Regions from separate parts of the Homo sapiens genome. Here all the other regions are linked to region 1. Evidence: promoter capture Hi-C in 16 types of primary human blood cells and fetal thymus (Javierre and others, 2016). All regions are on one chromosome and are shown on one strand. The core of a region is centred on a gene start or on the middle of the fragment in contact, and the rest is flanking DNA. Distances in the headings are between cores, read along the strand shown. Region 1 holds the start of FLAD1 (flavin adenine dinucleotide synthetase 1). Region 2 overlaps SHE (Src homology 2 domain containing E). Region 3 overlaps CHRNB2 (cholinergic receptor nicotinic beta 2 subunit). Region 4 overlaps ADAR (adenosine deaminase RNA specific). Region 5 overlaps LOC124904427 (a long non-coding RNA gene). Region 6 holds the start of HCN3 (hyperpolarization activated cyclic nucleotide gated potassium channel 3).

Region 1 (4,526 bases), core at 749-3,248:
TTAGCCAGGCATGGTGGGGCGCCCCTGTGGTCCCAGTTACTCTGGAGTCTGAGATGGGAGGATCACTTGAGCCCAGGAGGTCGAGGCTGCAGTGAACGGTGCTTGCGCCACTGCACTCGAGCCTGGGCAACAGAGAGACCCTGGTTCAAAAAAAAAAAAGGGAGGGGGGGCTTATTACTTAAAAGAATGGTCTAGACACCTGATCACCTGGGTCCACCATTCACTGTGTTTTGTGGTTGTGTGGCATCCCTTCACCTTTCTGAGCCTGTTCCTCATCTGTAAAATGAGCATGATGTGTATCTTACAGGGTATTTTTTTTCTTTTTGATGGAGCCTCGTTCTGTCGCCCAGGCTGGAGTGCAGTGACACAATCTCGGCTCACTGCAAGCTGCGCCTCCCGGGTTCACGCCATTCTCCTGCCTCAGCCTCCTGAGTAGCTGGGACTACAGGCTCCCGCCACCACGCCCGGCTAATTTTTTGTGTTTTTAGTAGAGACGGGGTTTCTCCATGTTGATCAGGCTGGTCTCCAGCTCCTGACCTCAGGTGATCCGCCCGCCTCGGCCTCCCAAAGTGCTGGGATTACAGGCGTGAGTCACCGCGCCCGGCCTTTTTTTCTTTTTTTCAATTGAGAGAACTCAAGCAATCCTCCCTCCTCAGACTCCCAAAGTGCTGCGCCCGACCAAGGGTTTTGAAGAGTAAAATTTGGCAAGGTGTGGTTTACCAGTCCTACAAAGAATGAATTCGGCCCGGCGCGGTGGCTCACGCCTGTAATCACAGCACTTTGGGAGGCCGAGGCGGGCGGATCACGAGGTCAGGAGATCGAGACCATGCTGGCTAACACAGTGAAACCCCGTCTCTACTAAAAAAAAAATGAAAATAAAAAAATTTTTAAAAAAAAGCCGGGCATGGTGGCGGGCGCCTGTAGTCCCAGCTACTCGGGAGGCTGAGGCAGGAGAATGGCGTGAACCCGGGAGGCGGAGCTTGCAGTGAGCCGAGATCGCGCCACTGCACTCCAGCCTGGGTGACAGAGGGAGACTCCGTCTCAAAAAAACAAAGAATGAATTCGGGCCCTTACCATTCAAAATGTAGTCCATAGAGCAGTGGGATCACCATCACATGGGAACTAGCTAAATGCAGATCTCAGGCCCCACCCAAACCTACTGAATCAATCTGCATATGAAAAGATCCCCAGATTATTGTTGGAAAAAAGTTTAAGATGTACTTTTAGAACAAAGGCAACTGAAATGGGGGTAAGCTCGGATGATGTGAGGATCCAGAGTAAACATGTAAGGCACTCCCTATTCGCTGCCTCATTTGCACCTACAAGACCAATTACTGGGAAAGGTCATTTGAACTAAGCACCATCTGGAGCAAGGTGGAGGAAGAGAGGGTTTTTGGACTCTTTCTTGTCAAAGAGATTTAAGTAATTCGTTTTGTCTACTATACTAGAGATAAATTAAGGTTCCACACATCAAAAGCTCACCTACTCCAGGGTCTTCATATCCGACAGACAGTGGTAATAATCTTTCTCGGTGTCCCTCCAACTTCCTTCTGCTATAAATAAGATGCTTTCTCACTCCAGTAAAAGCCCTTAGCCTAGTGTTAGAGTCACGGTGAATGAAAACAGCTTAAACCATGGCTAACTGACCCATTAAACAAAACAAAACAAAGCAACACATGCATAACAATTATTTGAATCCAGCACCAGAAACTCCCCGAGGGCCTTACAGCACCTTTAACTACGGCTCCTTTCCCGCCCTAAACTCCCGAGGTCCCGCCCCCGACCGTGGGCTAAGGTCCGGCCCCCGTATTTCCGGGCGAGAAGTGACCACGTGGTTGTCGCCTATAACAATCCGGCCCTGCTCCCATCCACTGGCTAAAGCCTGAGAGCGACAGTTGAATACACCAATGGGACCCTGGAAGAGTCTAAGCGACAGCCAAAATCACCATTCAATGTCAGCTAGGTGCAAGGCGGGACTTTAAGTACGGAAGCTGCCCCGGGACATGAGGAAAGGAACAAGGGAAAGAGCCGGTGAAGGGGCAGAACAGGCAGGTGAGAGTCTAAGAGGGCTCAGTAATCTGAAGCTTGGTGGGAAGAAGGGATTCTGGGCTAGAAAGGGTGCAGAAGCCTGAAGTAGAAAGAGACGGGATTTTGGTCCGGGGTGGAGAGCGAATGCATTGAAAAGGGCCAAGGCCCAGGATAAGGTAGACATTTAAAGGGGTACGGATGCCCAAGGTAGAGCAGACACTTGAGGAGACCAGCTCAGCAAACGGAAGACACTTAAAGTGGTAGGTTCTCAAGAGAGAAGAAGTTTTTAAGACTAGAGCTAAGCAAGACATTTAAAAGGACATGGGTTGGGATTTGGGAACACGTTTATTCCAGAGGCAGGAACAAAGGAGTCGCTTGTCAAGGATCTGGTTAGAGAAGACTAGGGTCTTCCTCGAAGGAAGCACGCGCACGCCTGCTCTCCCCCATTGTCTTTTCTGGCTTCTCCAGGTTCCCTCGACCCAGGACCCCCTGTTCCCAGGCTATGGCCCCCAGTGCCCTGTAGACCTGGCAGGCCCCCCGTGCTTGCGACCCCTATTTGGGGGTCTGGGTGGCTACTGGAGGGCCTTGCAGAGGGGCAGAGAAGGCAGGACCATGACATCTAGGGCCTCTGAACTTTCTCCGGGGCGCAGCGTGACGGCTGGCATCATCATTGTTGGAGATGAGATCCTTAAGGTGTGTCTGGGACAGAAAAGGGGGGAGGGCGCTGCGTTCTCCTGTCCTTAAGGGCCTGCTGCACATCCCTCCATGGAAGGAGGTGAAACAGGGTGGGAGCCTCTTTGCTGCAGTAGGATCCTGGAGTGAATCCAGCATATTGGAGGAAAATTAACCCTCATTCTTTCAATTACTCTACTGAAAAACTTGTAGCAAAGTCCCTACAATTTTTCAACCTGAGAGAGCTGATTGAAAAAAAGAAAAATAAAAAGGTCATTGCAATTTACCAAGCAGTATGGTAGAGGGCAGAGGAGCTACACAACAATGACAGGAAGCCCCTCGAGTAGAGGAGGTACAGGTGTGTGTATTGTATATTTAAGAGTTTTGGCCGGGTGCGGTGGCTCACGCATGTAATCCCAGCACTTTGGGAGGCCGAGGCGGGTGGATCACGAGTTCAGGAGTTCGAGACCAGCCTCAACATGGAGAAACCCCATCTCTACTAAAAATACAAAATTAGCCAGGCGTGGTGGTGCATGCCTGTAATCCCAGCTACTTGGCAGGCTGAGGCAGGAGAATTGCTTGAACGTGGGAGGCGGAGGTTGCAGTGAGCTGAGATCGTGCCATTGCACTCCAGCCTGGGCAACAAGAGCGAAACTCCGTCTCAAAAAAAAAAAAAAAAAAAAGAGTTTTACCCAGCCTTTTTGGAAATGACTCAAGGTACTCAGCGTAGTGGATAAGTGAGCTAGAAGGAAGGTACTAGAAGGGATGAATCCCCTCCGAATGATCAGGAAAGTCTTACTAGAGGACATAACAGATGACACGGGTTTTTTTGTTTTTGAGACAAGATTTTGCTCTGTCACCTAGGCTGGAGTGCAGTGGCACAGTCACAGCTCACTGAAGCCTCCATCTTCCAGGCTCAAGCAGTCCTCCTGCCTCAGCATCTGGAGTTGCTGTGACTACAGGTGTTAGCCGCCACACCTGGCTAATTTTTTTTTTTTTTTTTTTTTTTTTTTTTTTTTCAGAAACGGTCTCACTATGTTGCCCAGGCTGGTCTCAAACTCCTGGGCTCAAGCAATCCTCCCACACCTTGCTGGGATTATAGGCATGAACCACTGAGCTTGGCCAAATGTCAAGTTTTAATAATAATCTTTTTTAATATTCTTTGTAAATTTGTGTTTTTTTTGTTTTTTTTGTTTTTTTTTTTTAGATAGTCTCACTCTGTTGCCCAGGCTGGAGTGCATTGGTGGGATCTCAGCTGACTGCACCTCCACCTCTCGCGTTCAAGCAGTTCTCATGCCTCAGCCACCCGAGTAGTTGGGATTACAGGCATGAGCCACTGCACTCAGCCTTAATAGACCCTTTTTTTTTTTTTAGACAGAGTCTTGTTCTGTTGCCCAGGTTGGAGTGCAGTGGCGTGATCAATTTTGGCTCACTGCAACCTCCACCTCCCAGGTTCAAGCAATTCTCCTGTCTCAGCCTCCCAAGTGGCTGGGACTACAGGCATGTGCCACCACACCTGGCTAATTTTTGTATTTTTAGTAGGGACGGATGGGGTTTCGCCATGTTGGCCAGGCTGGTCTCGAACTCCTGACCTCAAGTGATCCACCCACCTCAGCCTCCCAAAATGTTGGGATTACAGGCGTGAGCCACCTCACCTGGCCCTGACCCCAATTTTTTTTTTTTTTTTTTTTTTTTTTGAGACAGAGTTTCACTTTTGTTGCCCAGGCTGGAGTGCAATGGCTCGATCTTGGCTCACCGTAACCTCCGCCTCCTGGGTTCAAGCGACTCTCCTGCCTCAGCTTCCCGAGTAGCTGGGATTACAAGCA
Region 2 (4,526 bases), core at 1,204-3,703, 500 kb before region 1:
ACCCTGTCTCAAAAATAAAGTAAAATCAGGCCGAGCACGGTGGTTCATGCCTGTAATCCCAGCACTTTGGGAGGTCGAGGCAGGCAGATCACAAGGTCAGGCGTTTGAGATCAGCCTGGCCAACATAGTGAAACCCCGTCTCTACTAAAAATACAAAAATTAGCCAGGTGTGGTGGTGGGCACCTATAATCCCAGCTACTCAGGAGGCTGAGGCTTGGACCCGGGAAGCAGAGGTTGCAGTGAGCCACGATTGCATCACTGCACTCCAGCCTAGGCGACAGAGTGAGACTCTGTCTCAAAAAAAAAGTAAAGCAATCCAAAATAATCCATACCGTCTCAGAAAAAAAAAAAAGTAGAATAAAGCAATCTGAAATAATCCACACCTTTTTTATCTTTTAAGTAAAATATGTTTCTTGCCAACAACATGCTGGTTGATAGCTTGATCAACAAATTGGCTTTTATGTGCTCATCAAGTAATAATTTATCTTTCCCTCAATCCAAATTAGTAAACCTGTTTATTTATGCACATAAATTAGAAGGCAATCATTTAAAAATGTCATGTAGAAAGTATTTTAAATTTGAATCAAGACATTACAGTGATTCATACTACATGATTCACAAAGGGGAAGTAATTCTGGTGCTACCTGTGGATTCTGGAAATGATAACCTCATGCCTCACACTGAATCTCCTCAAGGTATGTTTATCAGAGCTTAAATGACCTTCAGGACTTCACACTACCCAGTTCTACAGGCAGAGCCTCTCCCAAGCAGGGGAAAGGCTGCCTAGGCCCATGGACACAACTTGCCAGACCCAGCAGAGGATTGTCCTGGAGGTGGAGATGGATACCGAAAACCCAATTCCTTTTTCCCTTGCTCTGAGTCCATGTGCCCCTCTATGGGTAGAGAGCACATTGATCACACAGGTGACCTGAATGTCCAGTCTGCTAGATGCATTTCCATTGTAAGATAATAGACTGGCATTTTTGTGTGTGTGGTAAGAAATGCATTAACATAAAATTTACCATCTTAACCACCTATTTTAATTTTTTTTATAAGAGATGGGGTTTCACCACGTTGCCCGGGCTGGTCTCGAACTCCTTCGCTCAAGTGATCCGCCTACTTTGGCCTCCCAAAGCCCTGGGATTACAGGCATAAGCCACTACACTTGGCCTATGTTAACCATTTCTAAGTGTGCAGTTCAGCAGTGTTAACTACATTCATATTGTTGTGCACCCAATCTCCAGGACTTTTCATTATCTCATGCAGAAACTCTGGGCTGGGAATGGTGGGTCATGCCTATAATCTCAGCACTTTGGGAGGCCAAGGCTGGTGGATCACATGAGGTCAGGAGTTTGAGACCAGCCTGGCCAACATGGTGAAACCCCGTTTCTACTAACAATACAAAAATTAGCTGGGTGTTGTGGCGCATGCCTGTAGTCCCAGCTACTTGGGAGGCTGAGGCAGGAGAATTGCTGGAACCTGGGAGGTGGAGGTTGCAGTGAGTTGAGATTGCACCACTGCACTCCAGCCTGGGCGACAGAGCAAGACACTGTCTCAAAAAAAAAAAAAAAAAAAGAAAGAAAAGAAAAGAAAACTCTGCACTCATTAAACAACTCCCCATTTCCTCCTTCCCCAGCCCCTGGCAACTACCATTCTACTTTCTATGAATTTGACTACTCTGGGTACCTCATGTAAGTGGAATCATACAGTATTTGTCTTTTTGTGACTGACGGGTTTCACTCAGCGTAATGGTCTGTGTCAGGATTCCCTTCCTTGTTGAGGCTGAATGATACTCTGCTGTATTGCCAGCGTCAGTTATGGGAGTAGCAAGATAATGAAGCACACCCTGCCCAGTGGCTTCCAGAAGTTCCTGGTCTACAAGGTCAAGGAGCCGGAATGAAGCGCTGCTGATGTGCAACAAATTATACTGAGCTGAGATTGCTCACAATGTTTCCTCCAGAACCACAAGGCCACTGTGGAGCGAGCAGCCCCGTGGGCCATCAGTCACCACTCCCAAGGCCAGGCTGTGCAGCGAAGAAAATGAACAGACAACTCAGTCTATGTTTTGTTTTTAAATGAAATCATAAAAAGTGCAAAAAAAAAAAAAAAAAAAACACTCTAGAGTGAGACCTGGGCCGCAATCTGGGCTCTACCACTTACTATGACTGACCCAAGACAAGTTATTTCATCATTCTAAGCACCCGTGTTTTTATCTGAAAAACAAGGTTCCCACCTGGCTGAGTTGTGGCAGATTAAATGAGATGCTGTATGATGAAAAGCATTTGTTCAGCAGCACACCTGGTGCGGAAAAAGAGTCTATTCTCACTACTTACATCTTGGCCTTTCACAGGGTCAGAATCCAACATTCAACACTCAAACCCTGGGTGCTTGTAAACACGTGTTCAATCTGAATTCTGAAAACCATTACTCTAATTGCTCGGGTGGTGGGTGGCGGGAGCATTTCTTAATGCAAACTTCCTCTTCTCTTAAACACAGATGGGTTAAAACAATAGGCACTTGTTCCACCTGGTGGCAACTTACATAAATGTTTAATGGAAGTTAAAAACTTGAAACCATGTTAGGAATTTTGGAGGGGAAAACTTTTTGATAGCAGACTCAACAGTATGCCCTTCTAGGACCTGACGTGAATTTATTTGTGCATTTCCAAATAGGAGCTTCCAACAGGGCTTCTCCACCATTGGCTGTGTATCCAAATCACCTGGTACAATTTTTTTTTAAAATAGGTTTTTGAACTTTGCAACAGACTTAGGGCATCCCACAGATGGCATGGGACATTTGTATTAATAACAAACTGATAAAAACAGAAGCAGAGCCCAAATCTTCTATCTAGTGAGGGATGAGAACCAGTGCACTAACTTTCGACTCAGGAAGAGATGGGCCAGGAAATGGCAGTAAAACATCACTGTATTACTATTTTACTTGGGAAGAAAAACATAATAGAAGGACTCTAAATGTGAACAGAGTAAATAAAAGATAGAATCTGCTGGTTATGTTCCATCATGGTGTTTCTATATTTCATTAATGGTGACTGCAAATGAAACTCTGCTGTAGCTCTTACCATGGGAAGTATTTTTCTGAAGGAAGATGATTCTCAGAGCTAACTGAATTAAGCAAAACCACTGTAGTTTTCTTGGAATAATGTTTATTTAAAGTTACATTTCAGAGGAAACTATCTTCAGGAGGGCATGAAGCCTATATTGGCTACTGCAAAACAACCAGAAGTTTTATAAAATATTTCTGATTTAAATTACTAAGGCACTATAGATAGACACCTATATTACATACAATCTTCAAACATTTTTAAAAGTTGAAACTATGTATTAGTTGATATCTAAAATATTAAAGCCCCTGACAAACTGAACGGCTAAGAACTTGACAAAATGAGACGCCTGTTTCAATGATTCTGTTGCCAGCATATTAATTAAAATACAATTTGAGATTCTAAATTACACGATCCAGCCTTAGTCCAGGGACCTTGTGATGATAGTTGTATTAGACTTCAAAACACCCTTTCCGCAGGAAAGGGCATTTTTCAAGATGGCAACTGCTGTGTCATCATTTTCCCTTTTCTGGACTGTATCAGAAATCCTTCAGAAAGCCCTACCCTTAAATGCACAGCTGCTTTTCCCAACTGCAGTTTTCTCTTTTCCCATTAGATGGCAGTAACGCACCATCTCTCTTCACACAGGGTCAGCGGTGGAGGGTAAGTTGAACAGAAGGCCCACTGCACAGCAGGCCAAGTTTCTCTAGTCCACGTTAGTGGGGCACAAAAATTGGAAATGAGAATACAGAAGAGTGATTCTAACCAGGTCATAAGGCCAAACTAGTGCTAGTTATGGAAAAATAGGAGACAACTAGTGAACGAGAGATCTGTGAAGGGTTTCAGTGCAATCCTGCTGAGTGTCAAGGGGTGCGGGGAAGGGAAATGAAATCGACATCACTGCACTCCCTAAACCCTGGAAGGAGGGAGAAACAAGGGGCTAACCTTTGACTGAAAAAGGGCATCTGACAGAACAGAAACTAACCCCACTTAACCCGCAACTGAAGAATGCCTCACAGTTATTCTTCTGAATATCAAGATGCATCCAGTAACAACAGCCAATAACAGACTAGTAACAGAGTTACATAATCCAATTAACAAATTAGGACAATTTCCCACCACCTGCCTCAAAAACTCCTGGCTGCCCCTATCAGCTACCTGCCCACCTCCCCATCCTGCGGCAGAGGCTAGTACACAAATACCAATTCTGCAAAGTACGGAGACTTCCAACAGCAAAGAATAAAGGCTTTCTAAAATGCTTAAGAAAGTGCTTTGAATAACTTAAAATGACACTTCTGCCCCCAACAGAGAGTAGATATATCAATATTTACCTTTTTGTATACATATTAACACTTCTCCATTATTTTATTCCTAGCTTAAATACACACAAGGCCAGTGGTTTGCAGGCCATCCTGAGATACAACTATGGTATCAAAGTAAATAGCAAGGTCCTTTACTCTCTCTT
Region 3 (4,526 bases), core at 965-3,464, 410 kb before region 1:
TAGGTATTTGCTGGGGAAGCCATGGAAGCAGAAATCTCAAACTGCCCTCTGAGACTTTGGGGGAAGAGCAGGTCTCCATGAATCCTTGCAGAGTGGGTTCTTAGTCTCAAGTCATCTCTGTGGAGCTGTGTAGACTCTTTGGTCAGTGGTCTCAGAGAGGGGCTTTTCTATGAAGACATTAATCTGGGGCCTCCCTGGGGTTAATCTAAGCATTTTGCAGTATCCTTAGGGATGTAGGGAGATACTGGTTGGGCCTGGATTGTCCCATTTGCCTGGGGAGGGTGGGATGCTGGGTGGGCTCTCCTTGCCTGCTTACTTTCGTCCTGCCTTTCCCCTGCCCAGGGGTGTGGGGTACGGATACAGAGGAGCGGCTGGTGGAGCATCTCCTGGATCCTTCCCGCTACAACAAGCTTATCCGCCCAGCCACCAATGGCTCTGAGCTGGTGACAGTACAGCTTATGGTGTCACTGGCCCAGCTCATCAGTGTGGTGAGTAGAGGTCCCAGGCTCTCTGCCCAGCTACTGAAATCAGCCCCGCCAAAATGTGTTAATGCTTGTGTGCTTCCTCCCCTGGTGTTTCCAAGGCTTGGGGAGGTGTGAGAGGGACCCTGGGTGGTGGCAGTGACCCCACAGGCTTAGGGGCCTTCTCGGCAGCCTCTCTTCCTCCCTGCAGCATGAGCGGGAGCAGATCATGACCACCAATGTCTGGCTGACCCAGGTAAGCGTAAGTGCTCTCTTCCACCCACACCCCTGGCCTTCTCTCTCCTCCTTTTTCCCCATGTGCTTTTTTCTTTCTTAATCTCTCAAAACAGGCAGAAAGGTATAGAGTTTGGAGTCCTAAACAATTGGATTTGAATCTTGGCACTCACCAGCCTTGTGACTTTAAACATATTAAACTCTCCAAGATTCATTTTCTCATTTGTAAATGTAGATTCTAATACTGTACCTTGGCCTAGCTGTGCAAATTAAATGAGAAAGTACCACATGAGCCATACCTGATGGGCAGAGAAGTCACTGTGGGGAAGAGGCTGGCTTTTAAAAGGTCCCTCAAGCCATATGGGCCCCCTCTAGTTCGTTTCCTTAACCTTGAGCCCCACCCAGGGCACAAGTTGGTACTGCCTCCCTCTCTCATTTCCCAGGAGTGGGAAGATTATCGCCTCACCTGGAAGCCTGAAGAGTTTGACAACATGAAGAAAGTTCGGCTCCCTTCCAAACACATCTGGCTCCCAGATGTGGTCCTGTACAACAAGTAGGTGCAATGGGAAGGTTGGGGGAGACCATTGGAGGGCTCAGGGAGGGAAGGGGTTCTGGGGAAAATAAGAGAAATTACTTATGCTGTGGGAGGGGAGGGACTTATAATAGATATGTAGTCACTACCTAGACAGACAGACCCAGACCAGTGAGGTACAGCGTGGACAGCCAAGGTGACCTGGGCAATGACCAGCCCACTCCCAGCCGGTTAGGACTCCCAGTATGTATTTGATGATGTGGTGGGGATACAAACAAGTATTGACAGCCCCCAGCGCCTCAACTGATTCAGGAACAGGCTTTCCTGGAAGCCTGGGAAGGATCAAAGAACTTTAAGGTCCCAGTTTCTCCTCCAGGTTCTATCCTGTCTCCTGCAATAATCCATCTTATCTCTAGGGTACAAAGCCACCTTCCTCAACTGATGGGACCATGCCCTGTCCCCTTCCATTGCTTGGGGCTCCTCACTCTGGCCTCCTGGCTCCCCTGACTTCTCCACCCTCATGAGGATCAACCAGCTTATACAATGTGTGACAAGTAGCAGATGTGTCCCCTTCCTCCACCCACCACCCCCTTCTACCTGCAAGGTGTCACACAGGCCTTCTGACCAGGACACTTCTTCTGGTCACTAACCTTCCCCCCCCTCCCCATATCCCCTTCTTGCTCAATTCCACCTCTCTATACTCCTGGATGGTTACTCTCAGATCTGGGTGTCCCCTCCCCATGTCTCCCTCTGGTTTTGCTCTCCTCCCATTAGGGGCTGGGTTGATGGGTAAGGAGGAAGGAACGCTTAGGCCAGGGCTGACTGTGCCCATCCTTTGGCAGTGCTGACGGCATGTACGAGGTGTCCTTCTATTCCAATGCCGTGGTCTCCTATGATGGCAGCATCTTCTGGCTGCCGCCTGCCATCTACAAGAGCGCATGCAAGATTGAAGTAAAGCACTTCCCATTTGACCAGCAGAACTGCACCATGAAGTTCCGTTCGTGGACCTACGACCGCACAGAGATCGACTTGGTGCTGAAGAGTGAGGTGGCCAGCCTGGACGACTTCACACCTAGTGGTGAGTGGGACATCGTGGCGCTGCCGGGCCGGCGCAACGAGAACCCCGACGACTCTACGTACGTGGACATCACGTATGACTTCATCATTCGCCGCAAGCCGCTCTTCTACACCATCAACCTCATCATCCCCTGTGTGCTCATCACCTCGCTAGCCATCCTTGTCTTCTACCTGCCATCCGACTGTGGCGAGAAGATGACGTTGTGCATCTCAGTGCTGCTGGCGCTCACGGTCTTCCTGCTGCTCATCTCCAAGATCGTGCCTCCCACCTCCCTCGACGTGCCGCTCGTCGGCAAGTACCTCATGTTCACCATGGTGCTTGTCACCTTCTCCATCGTCACCAGCGTGTGCGTGCTCAACGTGCACCACCGCTCGCCCACCACGCACACCATGGCGCCCTGGGTGAAGGTCGTCTTCCTGGAGAAGCTGCCCGCGCTGCTCTTCATGCAGCAGCCACGCCATCATTGCGCCCGTCAGCGCCTGCGCCTGCGGCGACGCCAGCGTGAGCGCGAGGGCGCTGGAGCCCTCTTCTTCCGCGAAGCCCCAGGGGCCGACTCCTGCACGTGCTTCGTCAACCGCGCGTCGGTGCAGGGGTTGGCCGGGGCCTTCGGGGCTGAGCCTGCACCAGTGGCGGGCCCCGGGCGCTCAGGGGAGCCGTGTGGCTGTGGCCTCCGGGAGGCGGTGGACGGCGTGCGCTTCATCGCAGACCACATGCGGAGCGAGGACGATGACCAGAGCGTGAGTGCCGCAGGCTGGGACCCCGGGCGTGAGATATGGGGTCTGCCAGGGCCCGGGTATCTGGAAAGCAGCGGCGTTCTATAGACATGCAGAGGTAGTAGGAGTGTAGGGGAGGAAAATGTGAGTCAGGCCTGTGTTGCGGGCCTGGGTGCTGGCTAGGGCCCTTCTGGGTTGGCTTCCGGGAGATTGTGCGGCCTAAATTGGAGTCGGTGGAAGATGACCTTGCTGCTTCCTGAGGGCTAGCACCCAGGGCAAAATGCCTGAGCTGGGGCATCGTTATATGGGCAGGGAGGCCTGAAACACGAGGAGGCCCTTTAGGGTTGGCAGCCAGCCTGTGGCCGTGACCCCGAGAGTCCCTCCCCACCCCCCGCTGCTTGCATGCCCACATCCAAGTTGTTAACCTGCAGCTCTTAGCACAAGTGATGAGTCTTTTGTGCACCACACAGGCAGGAGGGGGCAACATTGAGGACAGTAGGAGTGGTGTGTATTGGGGGAGGGGTGGCGTTGGTGGCGGGGTTAGAGATTCCAGGAGCCTGCTTGTGGTGGAGAGCATGGAGTCCTAAATCAATATCCCTGCTCTTCTGAGTCCCAGGGGATGGCCTCCTGAAATATTTATGGAGATGGGGGTGGGTGAAGGGGAAGGCTCCTTGGCCCCTTCCTCAGGCTTTCTGCATACCCGGCTTTTGGCTTCTTCTACAGGGTTCCCTGAGAGCTTCTTTGAGACTGAGCCAAGAGTTGGGGGGAGATATGATAGGCTGACATCCCCCCGACCCCGCACTTTGGGTAGGGGCCGGCCCCACCCTGTGGTCAGTCTCTGGCTACCTGGCTGGTTCCAGGCTGAGGCTCAGCTGTTGCCATGGTGACTGGCCAGGTTTCCTCTAGGACAGCTGCCATTCTGGCTGGGGGATGAAGAAGGGCACTGCGGTGTGGGCCTCAGAGATCTGTTTCCCTGGACAGCAGGAGATGGGTTGGAGCTGAAGCTTGGACCAGGGAGCATACACTAGAGGAGATGGGGTGGGAACCTTAGAGCCAGCTGAGGCCAAGTGGGAGATGCTGGGATTCAGGGACTCAGCAGGCTGTGGTTACCGCCTCCACCTCTCCTGCTGCAGTCATGCATGTATTGTGCATTTACCGAGCTAGGTGCTGAGGATGTGGTGACCTACTTGGATGCTTCACAGGCACCTCAAACTCAACATGCTCAAAACTGAGTATTTGGTCTACATCCTAACCACCAACTTGCTCCTCCACCAGTTTTTAGTACACGGCATCACCATTCACTTAATGGCTCAGACTGAAAACCCAGAGGGATCCTTGATCCTGTCCTTTCTCACCTCCCTCTCTGTCCAATTCATCAGAAGTCTTGTCCTGTCACAACCCCAAAGTCATTCTCAGCTTCATCTGTTTTTCAGCATCTCCATGCTAACACCCTGGTTCTAGGACATCATCAGCTCTTGCCTGGCCTAGGGCAGAAGAGTCTCCTAATA
Region 4 (4,526 bases), core at 877-3,376, 390 kb before region 1:
CATAAGTTTCACAAGAAAGTATAATGTGTGACCAGCTGCATGTTTAACCAAAAAAGCCTCTATAGAAAGCATACTTTCTGGAGGGTAAGTGCAGGGATCCACCATCTTGCAGCCACCCAAGACATCATTTCTGTTCCTAAGTCCCTATTAAATGTTTACTTCTGAGAAACTGAATTTGTCAGCTTCTATTCAATGAAATACTATGCAGCTATGCAAGAAGTCTGGTAAGTAAAGGAGTCAACGTATAAAACAGAAGATATACTTGTTTAAAAAGACAAAAGGGAAAATGTGCTAGTTATGCACAGCAATTTCTAGAAGGACTCAAGAAACTGGTATAGTCATGTACTGCATAACAGTGTTTTGTTCAATGATAAATCACACATATGACAGGGGCCCCGTAAGATTATGATGGAGCTGAAAAATTCTTATCACCAAGTGCAGGGCTCTGTAACCTGTTAGGAACCTGGGCACACAGGAAGAGGTGAGTGGCGAGCAAGAAAGCATTCTGGTCCGAGCTCCGCCTCCTGTGGGATCAGCAGCAGCATGAGATTCTTGTAGGAGTGTGAACTCGACTGTGAACTGTGAATGCGAGGGATCTAGGCTACACGCTCCTTATGTGTTTACTATATTTTTATCATTATTTCAGCGTATACTCCTTCTACTTCTAGAAAAATAAGTAACTAAAAAAAGCCTCAGGCAGGTATTCCAGAAAGCACTGTTACCATAGGAGATGACGGCCCCCATGCATGTTATTGCCCCTGAACACCTTACAGTGGGACAAGACGTGGAGGTGGAAGACAGTGATACTGAGGATCCTGACCCTGTGTAGGCCTAGGCTAACAGCTAATGTATTTTCATCTTAGCTTTCAACAAAAAAGTTTAAAAAGTTAAAAAAATAAAAAAATTTACAAACAGAAAAAAGACTATAGAATTAAGGATATAAACAAAGGAAATATTTTTGGATAGCAGTACAACATGTTTGTGTTTTAAGCTAAGTATTATTACAAAAGGAACAAAAAATAAAAAAGTTAATAAAGTAAAAAATAAAGTAAAAATAAAGTAAAAAAGTTACAGTAAGCTAAGGTTAATTTATTAAAGAAAAATATTTTAAATAAATGTAGTTAGCCTAAGTGAACAGTGTTTACAAAGCCTACATTAGTGTACAGTCATGTCCTAGGCCCTCATATTCATTCTCCACTCACTGGCTGACTCACCCACAGCAACTTCTAGTCCTGCAAGCTCCATTCATGGCAGGCGCCCTATACAGGTGTAGTATTTTTTTAATCCTTTATGCTGTCTTTTTACTGTATCTTTTTGCTGTTTAGATAGACACCAATACTTACCAGTGTGTTGCAGCTGCCCACAGTATTCACTACAGTTACATGCTGTACAGGTTTGTAGCCTAGGAGCAACCGGCCATACCATACAGCCTGTACGTGTGTAGGAGCCCATGCCATCTAGGTTTATGTAAATACACACTGATGTTCTCACAACAACAAAACCATGCTTCTCAGACCGCATCCCAGTTGCTAATGCAGGGCTATAGTAATATATGGGTCTAGGGAGGGAAACTAGAAGTCTGAGACGGAAATGAGACTTTTCATTGAAATGACTACTTTTTCAATCAGCTTGAATGATTTTTTTCAAGATGGAGTCTTGCTCTGTTGCTCAGGCTGGAGTGCAGTGGTGCGATCTCAGCTCACTGCAACCTCCGCCTCCCAGCTTCAATCAATTCTCCTGTCTGCCTCCCGAGTAGCTGGGATTACAGGCACCCGCTGCCACGCCCAGCTAATTTTTGTATTTTTAGTAGAGACAGGGTTTCCTCATATGGTCCGGCTGGTCTTGAACTCCCGACCTCAGGTAATCTACCTGCCTCAACTTCCCAAAGTGCTGGGATTACAGGCGTGAGCCACCATGTCTGGCCTGAATGATTTTTTAATGTACCTATACATTTCTTTAAAAATTAAAACTAGTCAAAAAATTAAAAAGGATCATGCTTACTGGAAGAGTGAACGCATTCACTCTTGGCAGGTCTATTGTCTTCTAAGAGGCCGTGGAGACAGGGCTGGACTTGTTTCCCTCAACTCGCCCCTTCTGTCCTACACAGCTAAAGCACACCCTTGTTTTCCCTGGGTTACAGACCATCCCCAACTGGTGACACATGCATTAGCCAGGACTAGGACACTCACTTGGGCTCGTGAGGAGGTCCGGACTGGTCGACCAACTTGAATTCAGCAGCAAAGCCATGGGAGCGGGCGTACTCCAAAAGGCCACCCACAGGGTTGGTGTTCAGGTATCTCACGAGCTCGCCAATCTTCCTGACCTTGTTGGGCATCATGGATTCCAAGTTATCAAGTGACTCTGAGATCATACCTTCAGGCTAAAGGAGAATCCATCAAACAGAGGAGCCATAAACACTTCAGGAAATGTTGAGGGAGTCACTGGCAATCTTAAACCACTCAGTTGCTAAAAATGACCTGTATCTTTTGAGTAGGAAAACGCCCTACCTGGTTATCAGAAGCCATGGAGTTGGTCGCCTCCCCATGCAGGGCCTTCATGGCTTCCTCTGCGGCCATCTGCTTTGCCACTTTCTTGCTGGGAGCACTCACACTGGGGAAAGTTTGGGCTCCCACTGCAACACAGTATTGGAACCTGACAGGAGATGAAGCACGTAGAAGGATTAAAATGGTTTTGACTGAGGAGCCTGACCTAGCCTCTGCCAGGCTGCCATCCTCCACTACTGGTAATTTCCTTGAACACATCACCTCTGTGCAGTCACATCTCATGCAGTCACTTCTGCCTTGAACAGCCAGTGTCTCTTAGCCTGGCTGACCCCTTTCAACATTTAAGCATCAACCTAGTTTCACCTCTTCCAGGAACACTTCTCTTGAACATGTGAGTCTATAGACCCACAGGCAGAGAGCTTCTCAGGTCCTGTACCTTTCTGTCCCACCAACAGTGAGTGACCTCCAAGCCGTGAACCTCCCTAGTGCTTATAGAGGAGATAGAGGGTGGGCCAGGAATTCCCTTTGAATTCCTAATCCCTAATTGTCTGCCTCACAAGCAGCAACCAGGACCTCAGAGCCCTCCTTTCCCCATTTTGAAACAGGAGAAATTGGTCAATCTGCCATCCCTGAGGAGGCAAGGAAGAAAATGTGTCTCTTTTTCTTTCTGAGAAAACCTCAGCTGGACAGAGGACACGTAGGACATACTTGGGTTCATGGGCAGGGCCTTCTTTGGACAGGAGACGGAATTCGCAGGAGTTCCCCAATTTGTGCATACACTCAAGCAGTGTGGTGACGGGGCTCTTCCCAGAAAAGAAGGATGTGGCTGAAGGGGTGGGGGTCTGGGACTCTGCAGTCTAGAGAAAATGAGAGACAAGAAGAAAACAAAACTAAGAAAACACTGGTTAGTCCATCACAGAAGAAGGGATGGGGATGGGGGACTTTATTCCCACCACCTGTCAAGGGGTTGGCTTCCCAAAGTTAAAGGGGCTGCTGGAGCTCTCATTCCGCATCTTCCAAGAGAGGAGATTGGCCTCAATAAACTTTCAGGTCTCTTTCAAGTCCGAAATTCTGTAAATCCAATTATGTTGGGACAGGAGCAGACAGAGGAGCTGGGTATGAGAGGAGGAAAGGTGGGCTGGCGAGATAGGGTAGAGGGAAGAGTGGGAAGCTGACTCCGAGATGGTGTCAGTTGTTTAGGCTGGGATTGCCTCAAGGGAGTCAGTTACAATCCAGACACTGACAGGGAACTGATCCTCCCAGATGGCAGGAGGACACCTACCTTCTCTGATTCTTTCTCTGTGGAATAGTGGGATGATTCTTCTGATTTTCCACTGTCCTTGGCTTTGGCTTCCTCTAGCAGAATTGTCATGGCTTTCATAGCTGCATCCTGCTTGGCCACTTTCTTGCTTCCAGCTTCAGCTGGGGGAAACTCTCGGCCATTGATGACAACCTGGAATTTAAATCTTGACGGAAAGTGATTAGATGTGTGAACAGGAGTCTAGGTCACTCCTTCTGCCTTCTCCAAAGAGACCTTCAACCTGGAATTTTCTGCTACGCTAAGGGGCTTTTCACTTGTGGAGATGAAGGGTAGGCCAAGGAACTCCTTCCTACTCCTTAAGGCTCAGCCTGTCCTTTCTTTTTGTAAACAAAGCAGCCAGTGACTCTTTCCCCATAGCTCAGTGAAGCAAACATAGGCACAGATGATAGGAAACTAGCTCAGGGGAAACCCACTATCTCTTTAACAATGAATTAAGATAAAACCCACACACACAAAAATGATGAGCCAAAAATTACCATTATAGTCTTGTGAGCAACCAAAAGACCTTCATTCTAAAGCAATTGTGGTAGACTGGCCTCCTCAAGGGAGGGTCCTAAAAGATAGTGAAGGCTTCTTATAACCCAGTCTCACACTCCCCACTACCTAGGGGGATCAGGCATCTGCCACTTATCAGTGGCCTGCTTTTGTCCCTAGACCTATATCACCGTAGTTTGTTATGAGTCACTCTATAGCACCATTTG
Region 5 (4,526 bases), core at 1,445-3,944, 350 kb before region 1:
TTGACCGAAGTTACATTTTGTTCATTTTCACTGCTACATAAAAATCCATTATGTACCATAATTTATCCATTCTCCAGCTGCCAAGTCTTTGTGCAATTTCCAGTCTTTTGCTCTTTCCAACAGTGTTGGAAATCAGCATTGCTTTCTGGTGCCCCTGTGCAAAAATGTCTCTTGGGTGTATTTACCTAGGAATAAAATTGATAGGACTTTGGAATGCCAGTATTCCACTTTATATGATAGTACCAAATTTTTATCCAAAGTGGTTGTACCAGTTTATACTCCTACCAGCATCCACATCTTCTCTAACACCTCAGATTTCTTGGCTTTTGCTAATGCATGGTCTCAAACTGCCCTTATTGAGGTTAAGCATCTCTTTTAAATATGTATTGTCCATCTGTAGTTTCTCTTCTGTGAAATGTCAGTGTAGGGCATTTGAGGGATTTTTAGGGCTGAGCAAGAAAAAATATATGACCAGGAGGTGACAGTAGCACACTCAAGCTTTATTTGTGTGAGCTTTGACAGGTTTGTATTTAGGGGAAGTCCTTGGCAGCATGAGAAGATCCAGAGATTGGGGGTGGAGAGGAACCATCCAAAAGGGGAAAAGAGAAGGAAACTTCCAGAAGAGAGTGGCCTTACCATGTCCAGGTGATGTTGTTCAGCGGCCTGTGGGAAGTCTCTGTTTCAGAAAGCTCCCAAGGGCAGCAGCAAATTGGAGTCTTCATAAACCACAGATTTATCTTATCTATGACTAACAGATGTTGGGCACAGTTTCATGAGGTATACAAAGCAGGCAAGCAGCTCTAAATGCCTAAAAATCTGCTTAGTTGTGTTATATTTAAAATGCCTGGATGTATAAACATTTGAGTTAGGTGCTGAAAGGCTTTTGAGATAATAGATACCAGCTTGCTGTGAAGAAATAAACAACTCAGGGACCCAGATACAGAGGCCATCTTTGGCTCTTTATATAACAGTCAGTTTGAGTCTTTTATTATTGTTTTAGTGGATTGTTTGCTACATTATTCACAAACTTAGGGCACTGATTCTTCATCAGTTATATGTGTTGCAAATTTATCCTTCCATATGTATCCTTTCATTTTCTATTTTGGTAGATGTTCTTAACTTTGAATTTATTAATATTTATCCTGTTTTTCTTTTCCCCGTACCCTAATATTTATTCACTTACTCTTACTCCTAAAAATCTTTAAATCCTTATTCTCTCTGGAATTTACTTTTGTATATGGTGTGAGGTAGGGATCCCATTTTACTTTTTACATACAAATGACCTTTATTTTTCCCCAGGTTTGTTTATTGACTAGCCCCACCTTTCCCAACTTTCCCACCTTTCCCAACTTTGTTATATATCAACATTCCAGTTACTTATGGGTCTATTTCTGATCTATCTATTCTCTTCCACTGGAAAATTTGTCTATCTTGATGTCAACACCACATTATTTAATTACCACAGCTTTATAAAAAGTCTTGATATTTAGTAGTGCAAAATCTCCCTTTTATTCTTCATCCATCTTCTTTTTTTGGGCTATGCTTGGTCTTTAGTTTTCCCATATTTTAAGGCAAGCATCTCAAGTTGCACACACAAACAAGTTGCACACACACACACGCAGCAGTAACAACAACAAAAACCTGTTGGCATTGCATTGAATAATAAATAACTAATATATAAATTTGGAGAGAATTGACATTTTATGATTCTGAGTCTTCCATAAGCAAGGGATAACTTTCTTTTTATTAGGTCTTCATTAATGCTTTAATTTGGATTTATTATTCTCTTTGTCCAGATCTTGCACATCTTTTGGGGATTTTATTCCTAGATTCTTTGTAGTTTTTGTTGCTATTATAAGTGATGTCCTTTAAAAATATGCTTTCTAATTTTTTGATGATCATATAGAAATAAATTTGATTTTTGTACATTGATATTGTATCCAGCCACAATGCTAAACTCTTGTTTGTAGTAATTTATTTATTGATTCTTTTGGATTTTGTATGTAAACAATCATTATCTGAAAATAATGCCAGTTTCCCCCTTTCCTACGCCCAACCCTTATTGCTTTTTATCTATCTTAAAGTGTTACACTGGTTTGGCCAGGCTCAGTGGCTCATGCCTGTAATCCCAGCACTTTGGGAGGCCAAGGCGGGCAGATCATGAGGTCAGGAGATTGAGACCATCCTGGCTAACATGGTGAGACCCTATCTCTACTAAAAATACAAAAACTTAGCCGGGCGTGGTGGCGGGTGCCTGTAGTCCCAGCTACTTGGGAGGCTGAGGCAGGAGAATGGAGTGAACCCGGGAGGCAGAGCTTGCAGTGAGCTGAGATTGCACCACTGCACTCCAGCCTGGGCGACAGAGCCAGACTCCATCTCAAAAAAAAAAAAAAAGTGTTACACTGGTTTGGGGGAGAAGGCAGTGCATTGTTCCAGTACAGTGTTATTGGAAATGGTGATAGTGGGCATTCTTGATGCTCTTGATATTCGAAAGGGAAACTTAGTATTATTTTTGTATATTTTATGATAAAACATTTAGAATGATATTTTTGTAGGCGTTTTGTAAATCTCCTTTATCAGGTTAAGGAAGGTACCTTTTATTCCTAGTTGAATAAAATTTAAAAATCTTGAATGGATTTGAATTTAATTTATTTCTACATCTATTGAAATCATCACACAATTTCTTTCTCCCTTTAATATGTTAATATGGTAGATGACATTTATAGATTTTATATTAAACTACTTATCCTTGCATTCCTAGGATAAACAACTGGACCATAAAGTCTCAATTTTATATGCTATTGTGCTCTATATATTCTATGTCTATGTTATATTCTATGTAGGATTTTTGCGTTTGTGTTTATGAAAAACATGGACTTGTGATATTCCTTTCTCATTCTGTCTTGATCTGTTTGGGTTTCAAGGCTCATAAAGTGACATAAGGAGTATTCCCTTTTTTTGTATCCTCTGGAAGAATTTTAATAAGATTGGAGTGATTTTCCTTTCAAGCATCAGTAGAATTCACCAGTAAAACTGTCTGGAGCTGGGTGCAGTGGCTTACACCTATAATCTCAACTACTTGAGAGGCTCAAGCAGGAGGATCACTTGAGGCAAGGAATTCAAGACCAGACTGAGCAACAAGACTCCATCTCCAAAAAACAAAAACCAAACAAAACAGAACAGAACAGCACAGCAAAACCATCTCGGCTGGGTATTTTCCTTGTGTGAAGTTTGTAAAATACGACTTTGGTTTATTTAATAGTTATGAAACTGTTCAATTATTTTCTTTCTCCTTGAGTCAGTTTAATAAAATAATAGGTTCTAGAATTTTTTCCATGTCATCTAAGGGTTTAAGCTCATTGGCATAGTTATTGATTGTATTATCTTCTTAATCTCTGCTGTATTTATAGCTCTTTTTTCATTTATAATATTACTTGTGGTAGACTGTGTTATTGCTCTCCAAATATTTGTTCCTTTTCTTATAAGAGGACTATACATTTCTACCTAATGCTATGTGACTTGAGGTGACTCTTGTGACAGAAGAATGCATACCCAACCAGCTGTCAATGGGCTTGATCATCGTACATGAACAGAAACTTTAAAAGATATCGTACATGTTTCTACCAGCTTTCTTGCTCTTTTCTCTCTTCCATGAGAATGGCATGTGCGTGATTGGGGACCCCAGAATGAAGAATACATGTGGAGGAGAGCCCAGCAGAGTCAACATATATAGCAAATAAGAAATAAACACAGAGATTTGGGATTTTGTAGTTACCAAAGCATATTATAGTGAAAACTGACTGATAAAAATTATTTGCCTTTAACTTCTTATCATTTTTTCTTAGATAAATCATTGCAGAGGTTTATTTATTTTGTTGGTATTTTTCAAAGAACCAACTTTGTCCTTGTTGATTCTCCCTGTTTTCTATTTCGTTTCTATCTCTAGTTCTGCTCTTATAATTATCCCCTTCCTTCCATTTTCTTCGAGTTTATTCTGTTATTTCTTAAAGTTGTGTGTTTAGTTTATTAATTTTCAGCCATGTTTTTCTTGTCTTTAAAAACATTTAAGGCAGTAAATTTCCTTCAAAGCACTGCTTTCTGTATCCCACAAGTTTTGATATATAACATTTTTATTATTATTCAGTTCAAAAATATTTAAATTTTTATTGTAGTTTCTTCTTTGACTCATTATTTAAAAGATATGTTCTTGCCAGGCATGGTGGCTCGCACCTGTAATCCCAACACTTTTGGAGGGTGAGGCTGGAGGATCATTTAAGCCCAGAAGTTTGAGACCAGCCTGGGCAAAATAGTGAGACCCCATCTCTACTAAAAAAATAAAAATAAAAAATTAGCCAGGCATGGTAGTCCTAGCTACTGGGGAGGCTGAGGTGGCAGGATCACTTGAGCCCAGGAGTTTGATGCTGCAGCCTGGGTAACAGAGACCTTGTCTCTTCTGACATATTTGCATTGTTATCATAATTTTTATTATACTTTTAGGTCGGGCATGGTGGCTCATGCCTGTAATC
Region 6 (4,526 bases), core at 1,295-3,794, 290 kb after region 1:
AACCCCAGGGGGCGGAGCCTGCAGTGAGCCGAGATTGCGCCACTGCACTCCAGCCTGGGCGACAGCGAGACTCCGTCTCAAAAAAAAAAAAAAAAAAAAAAAAAAAAATACAAAAATTAGGCCAAGCGCGGTGGCTCATGCCTGTAATCCCAACAGTTTTGGAGGCCCAGGAAGGTGGATCACTTGAGCACAGGAGTTCGAGACCAGCCTGGCCAACCTGGTGAAACCCTGTCTCTACTAAAAATACAAAAATTAGCCGGGTGTGATGGCAGGTGCCTGTAATCCCAGCTATTTGGAAGGCTGAGGCACGAGAATCGCTTGAATCCAGAAGGTGGAGGTTGCAGTGAGCCGAGATGGTGCCATTGCACTCCAGCCTGGGCGACAGAGTGAGACTGTGTCTAAAATAAAATAAAATAAAAAATAAAAATTAGCCATTCATGGTGTCTCCCACCTGTAGTCCCAGCTACTCGGGAGGCTGAGGTGGGAGGATCACCTGAGCCTGGGGAGGTTGAGGCTGTAGTGACCCGTGATCGTGCCACTGCACTCCAGCTTGGGCGACAGAGTGAGACTCTATCTCAAAAAAAAAAAAAAAAAAAAAAGAAAAGAAAAGAAAAAAAGAAAATGAGAAAGAGAAAGAGTTAGAGACTTTACAGAAGGAATTGAGAAGTGGTCAGAAAGGTCAATTGAAAGAGAAATAATATAATCTGAGAATAACGATATTAAAGTCAGGGAGCTGAGCAAGGTGGCTCACACCTGTAGTCCCAGCTACTCAGGAAACTGAGGTGGGAAGATTGCTTTGAGGCTGCAGTGGGTCATGATCACACCACTGCACTCCAGCTTGAGCAACAGAGCAAGACCCTGACTCTAGAATGAGTAAATAAATAAAGTCAGGAAATATTAGAGAGGAGCTGGATGAAGGATGGTCAGATGGAGGTTAGATCAGATAACCAGACATAGTTTAGAGAAGTTCCCTGGAATAGAACATGGAGAGCAATCAATGAAGGAGTCGGGGAGAGAGAAGTAAAGATTTCACTTCCACCTCCTGGAACATTTTCCTAGATTATTAATTCATTCAACAAGCATTTACTGAATGTCCACTATGTGTCCAGAATTATGCCAGGTGCAAGGTTCCTGTTTCTCAGAGTTTCACAATCTAACAGGAGAGAAAATCTGTAAATAAATAATGAGACCATGCTCATGCCTGTAATCCTAGCACTTTGGGAAGCCAAGGCAGGAAGATCACTTGAGCTCTGAGTTCAAAACCAGCCTGGGCAACATAGTGTGACCTCATCTCTAAAATAATAATAATAATGGTAGCCCTGTGACATGAGTTGCTCAAAACAGTGGTGCCCTGGCTGCTGTAAAAAAGCTCTAGAATAGACCCTACCTGAGGAAAGGAGAGTTGGAAATGTGTTCCTAGGTTTCCTAGAGAAAGCAAGATCTGAACCAACTGTTCGAAAGTGAATTGGAGGAGAATACCAGGCAGAGAAAATATTTGCAAAAGCATAGAGACAAGGCAGCACAAAGTCTTTCAGCATGATTGGGGCTGTGGCTTTCAAGAGAGGGACTGTCAGAAGAGAGACTGTTGAAACTAGGTCCAAATTTTTTGGGCCTGGTACACCATGCTAAGCAGCTTAAATGTACCCCTGTAGAAGATGGGAAAGCTTGATGGGCTTCAAGCAAGTGACACAGCCATAGTTGGATTTTAGGAAGGTAACTGGCAGGGAATGGAAGAAGAATTGGCCTGGAAGAGGTTGAAGACTCTTTTAGAGGTTTCCGAAGTAATTTAAGTGAAAAAATGCTGAGGGCTTGAAATGAGGCAGTGGTAATAAGAATTGGAGATGAAGGGGAGAATTTGAGATATTTAGGAATTTGTAGCACTTCGCATAGCACTGCAATTTACCTGTCTGTCGTTGGGCACAGATGAGCAGTGGCTTTATGGCTAGGCCTTTGTTTTTGTTTTGTTTTGTGTTGTTTTCCATTACTACATGGAGATGCTAAGACTAGGACTTTTGTATTCATTTTTGTTTCCTCAGCATCCACTCAATGACAGGCAGAGTTGCACTTGGTGAAGGCTGACAGAATGAATTAGGAAATTAAATACTAGGGGAAGCAGTTCGGAGGAGACCAAAAGACAAGAATATGCCTAGGACAGTGTTGAGAGAAGACGGGAGCAGGACAGAAGTCCCTGGGCGAGAGTGGAGAAGAATCCCAAAAGCCATTTCCACTTCTTCCATTGGTCCCCAATCCCTCTCCCTCCCAAGTCCTTCAAGCTACAAACCCGCGTCCGATTTTCCCGCCACTGCAGGGGGCTCCTCCTCCCTGGTTCTCAGTGGATGAAAGGCCAACGCTAGGCCACGCCCTCTCCCTGGCTCAGGCTGCGCTCCCCGCCTTCTTTGCTAAGCCACGCCCCTCTCGGAGTTCCTCCAGGATCCCGGCGTCCCAGCCCCGCCCGGTCTTGGCGCGGCCCTCGCCAGGGGGCGCCGCGCAGCCCGCCCGCCGCCCGCCAGTCTAGCACACACCCCCTCCGCCCCGCGCGCCGGCGATTCCGAGCCTACGACGCCTCCGCTAGAGCCCGCGGGGCTGCGCCGACTCCTGCTCTGGAGGGGTTGCGGGTACCTGATGGCCACAGAGGGCTCTAGGAGGCCGAGCGTGTAAGCGGGGTGGGCGCCATGGAGGCAGAGCAGCGGCCGGCGGCGGGGGCCAGCGAAGGGGCGACCCCTGGACTGGAGGCGGTGCCTCCCGTTGCTCCCCCGCCTGCGACCGCGGCCTCAGGTCCGATCCCCAAATCTGGGCCTGAGCCTAAGAGGAGGCACCTTGGGACGCTGCTCCAGCCTACGGTCAACAAGTTCTCCCTTCGGGTGTTCGGCAGCCACAAAGCAGTGGAAATCGAGCAGGAGCGGGTGAAGTCAGCGGGGGCCTGGATCATCCACCCCTACAGCGACTTCCGGTATTGGGGGCTTGGCGGGGAGGGCAGGGTACATCAATCCCACCCTCGCGGGCAGCGACACCGGGACCCGGCCCGCCCCACCCTCCACGGTCACTTCATTTCCAGCCCGGGGTCCCTTGGTGGGGCGGGAGAGTCACTTGCACCAGTCTAGCCTGGGAATTCCTGGGCGGGTATCCCCTGCCGGAGGTCCTCCGTGCCTGGACAGGCTGGGGGCACCAGAAGGGGCAAGCAGACATCAGGGGATCTCCAGAGACCTGGATTTCCTCTTTCAGGAACCCGGGACCCCATCCGGACCAAAGGAACTACCAGAGTTTGGGACCCCTGCCTCCTCCAGTCCTGCTTGCTGGAGATCTAGGAAATTATATTCTAAGTATCGGGGCCAGTCTGAGGGAGAAGCCGAGCTCCGCCATCTCCCATCCCCACACCCGCTCCTTAGCACCTGCCTAGTTCAGCATGACAGACTACCAGGAAAAATAGGGACGCTGAAGGGGGCGGGGGGTCCAGACCTCAGCTCTGGTCGCTGTCCCTAGTGCTGAAGGCGGGGGCGGCGGGGCGGGGCCGAGACTCAGAGTGACTGAGGCGGCAAAGCAGGGGCAGGACCACCACCCAGGTGACTCCCAGAGAAGGAACAGAGGGTGGGGGTGGGGCCATTTCACAGTCTCCGTCAGGGTGTACCTCTACATCAAGGTCGCTAGGGGAAGACAGCAGCCCTGTCCTTGGGGGAAATGAAGGACAGCTCTTGGATGAGGCAGGGATGTGTGCAAAGCACCTAACCTGGGGAACTAAAGAAGCAGAGAGGAAGAGGTGTGAATCTGGAGCCTCGAAATACAGTTGTAGACCCAGACATTATCTTGAATCCACATATATACACACTCCCTCTATGTCTCTCTTCCTCCCATTGTTCCTTTCACTCCTGTCTTTGCTGCCTCGTTCCCACCCAGCCAGTGCGCCTTTTCTAGTCTCCTGTGGATCTCACTCTCTTCCCTCAGTTCACTCGCAGACGGATCCCCAGAAGCCTGGTATCCCTCTGATTGTGCTTCTCCATTCTCTATACTACATCACCCGCCAGGCTTGTGACCCACCTGTGAGTCAGGCTGTGAAGATGCTTTCATGGCTAGGCGAACCCTCTTTCCCTCCCCTCTCTTAGTGTCTCACAATACAGGATTCCTCCTCAGCAGCCGAGGAGAGAAAAGAAGAATGGCCGAGGGTTTTTGTTTATTGAAAACATACAGTCTAAGGGGCTTCCCAGAGGCCCGGACTTGAGGAAGTTTCTTTCAGGGCTGAAAATTGATTTTGCAGTCCGAGTCAGAAGGGGCTAGCTCCTGAGTTGACACTGGGATTAGGTGTGTCCTAGAATTAAAACCACCATAGGTAACTGAGTCCCTGAGATTTTCCTGTGCCATTCTCTGAATGAGGGCTTCACACAGTTCCCTCTTGACCTCTTCTTTCCACGGTGTCTGCCACAGCAATGTCACTCACCCCTGCCCATGCCTCTGCCTGTGCTCAGCCAGAGTCCCAGTGGACACAGGGAGGCCAGAGGAGGAAAGGTATGCAGAACTCAAGCCTTGCTGCTTCA

Evidence for each region. Contacts are between HindIII fragments. The CHiCAGO score rates a contact against its expected background, and 5 or more counts as called.
Region 2: a contact is called between a fragment that was not itself captured here and the fragment with the promoter of FLAD1 in region 1, in 1 of 17 cell types (neutrophils). The highest score is 5.1, in neutrophils.
Region 3: a contact is called between a fragment that was not itself captured here and the fragment with the promoter of FLAD1 in region 1, in 2 of 17 cell types (fetal thymus and endothelial precursors). The highest score is 5.8, in fetal thymus.
Region 4: a contact is called between a fragment that was not itself captured here and the fragment with the promoter of FLAD1 in region 1, in 1 of 17 cell types (total B cells). The highest score is 5.2, in total B cells.
Region 5: a fragment that was not itself captured here is called in contact with the fragment with the promoter of FLAD1 in region 1 in 1 of 17 cell types (fetal thymus); the score reaches 5.2 in fetal thymus.
Region 6: the fragment with the promoter of HCN3 here is called in contact with the fragment with the promoter of FLAD1 in region 1 in 1 of 17 cell types (monocytes); the score reaches 5.6 in monocytes.

The regions. Positions count from the first base shown.
Region 1 is chr1:154,981,346-154,985,871 of GRCh38, forward strand. It overlaps FLAD1 (flavin adenine dinucleotide synthetase 1), which reads left to right and starts at 1,999. Exons shown (of 7, transcript NM_025207.5): 1 at 1,999-2,721. The coding sequence starts at 2,350. RefSeq lists enhancers at 54-651, 1,252-1,849, 4,267-4,526 and a silencer at 1,732-1,911. The HindIII fragment of the contact is 2,398 bases long and covers 1-2,082 here.
Region 2 is chr1:154,476,335-154,480,860 of GRCh38, forward strand. It overlaps SHE (Src homology 2 domain containing E), which reads right to left. Exons shown (of 6, transcript NM_001010846.3): 6 at 3,147-4,526. Among named protein-coding and RNA genes, the nearest start is that of TDRD10, 24 kb to the right of the region's middle. The HindIII fragment of the contact is 5,610 bases long and covers 1-4,526 here.
Region 3 is chr1:154,569,120-154,573,645 of GRCh38, forward strand. CHRNB2 (cholinergic receptor nicotinic beta 2 subunit) reads left to right here. Exons shown (of 6, transcript NM_000748.3): 2 at 343-488; 3 at 673-717; 4 at 1,139-1,248; 5 at 2,070-3,042. Among named protein-coding and RNA genes, the nearest start is that of CHRNB2, 3.6 kb to the left of the region's middle. The HindIII fragment of the contact is 3,612 bases long and covers 409-4,020 here.
Region 4 is chr1:154,594,616-154,599,141 of GRCh38, forward strand. It overlaps ADAR (adenosine deaminase RNA specific), which reads right to left. Exons shown (of 15, transcript NM_001111.5): 3 at 3,787-3,970; 4 at 3,213-3,361; 5 at 2,508-2,652; 6 at 2,190-2,380. Among named protein-coding and RNA genes, the nearest start is that of ADAR, 11 kb to the right of the region's middle. The HindIII fragment of the contact is 5,008 bases long and covers 1-4,526 here.
Region 5 is chr1:154,628,634-154,633,159 of GRCh38, forward strand. LOC124904427 (a long non-coding RNA gene) reads left to right here. Exons shown (of 2, transcript XR_007066635.1): 2 at 2,925-3,763. Among named protein-coding and RNA genes, the nearest start is that of ADAR, 23 kb to the left of the region's middle. The HindIII fragment of the contact is 4,396 bases long and covers 497-4,526 here.
Region 6 is chr1:155,274,919-155,279,444 of GRCh38, forward strand. HCN3 (hyperpolarization activated cyclic nucleotide gated potassium channel 3) reads left to right here and starts at 2,545. Exons shown (of 8, transcript NM_020897.3): 1 at 2,545-2,950. The coding sequence starts at 2,673. The HindIII fragment of the contact is 9,883 bases long and covers 1,663-4,526 here.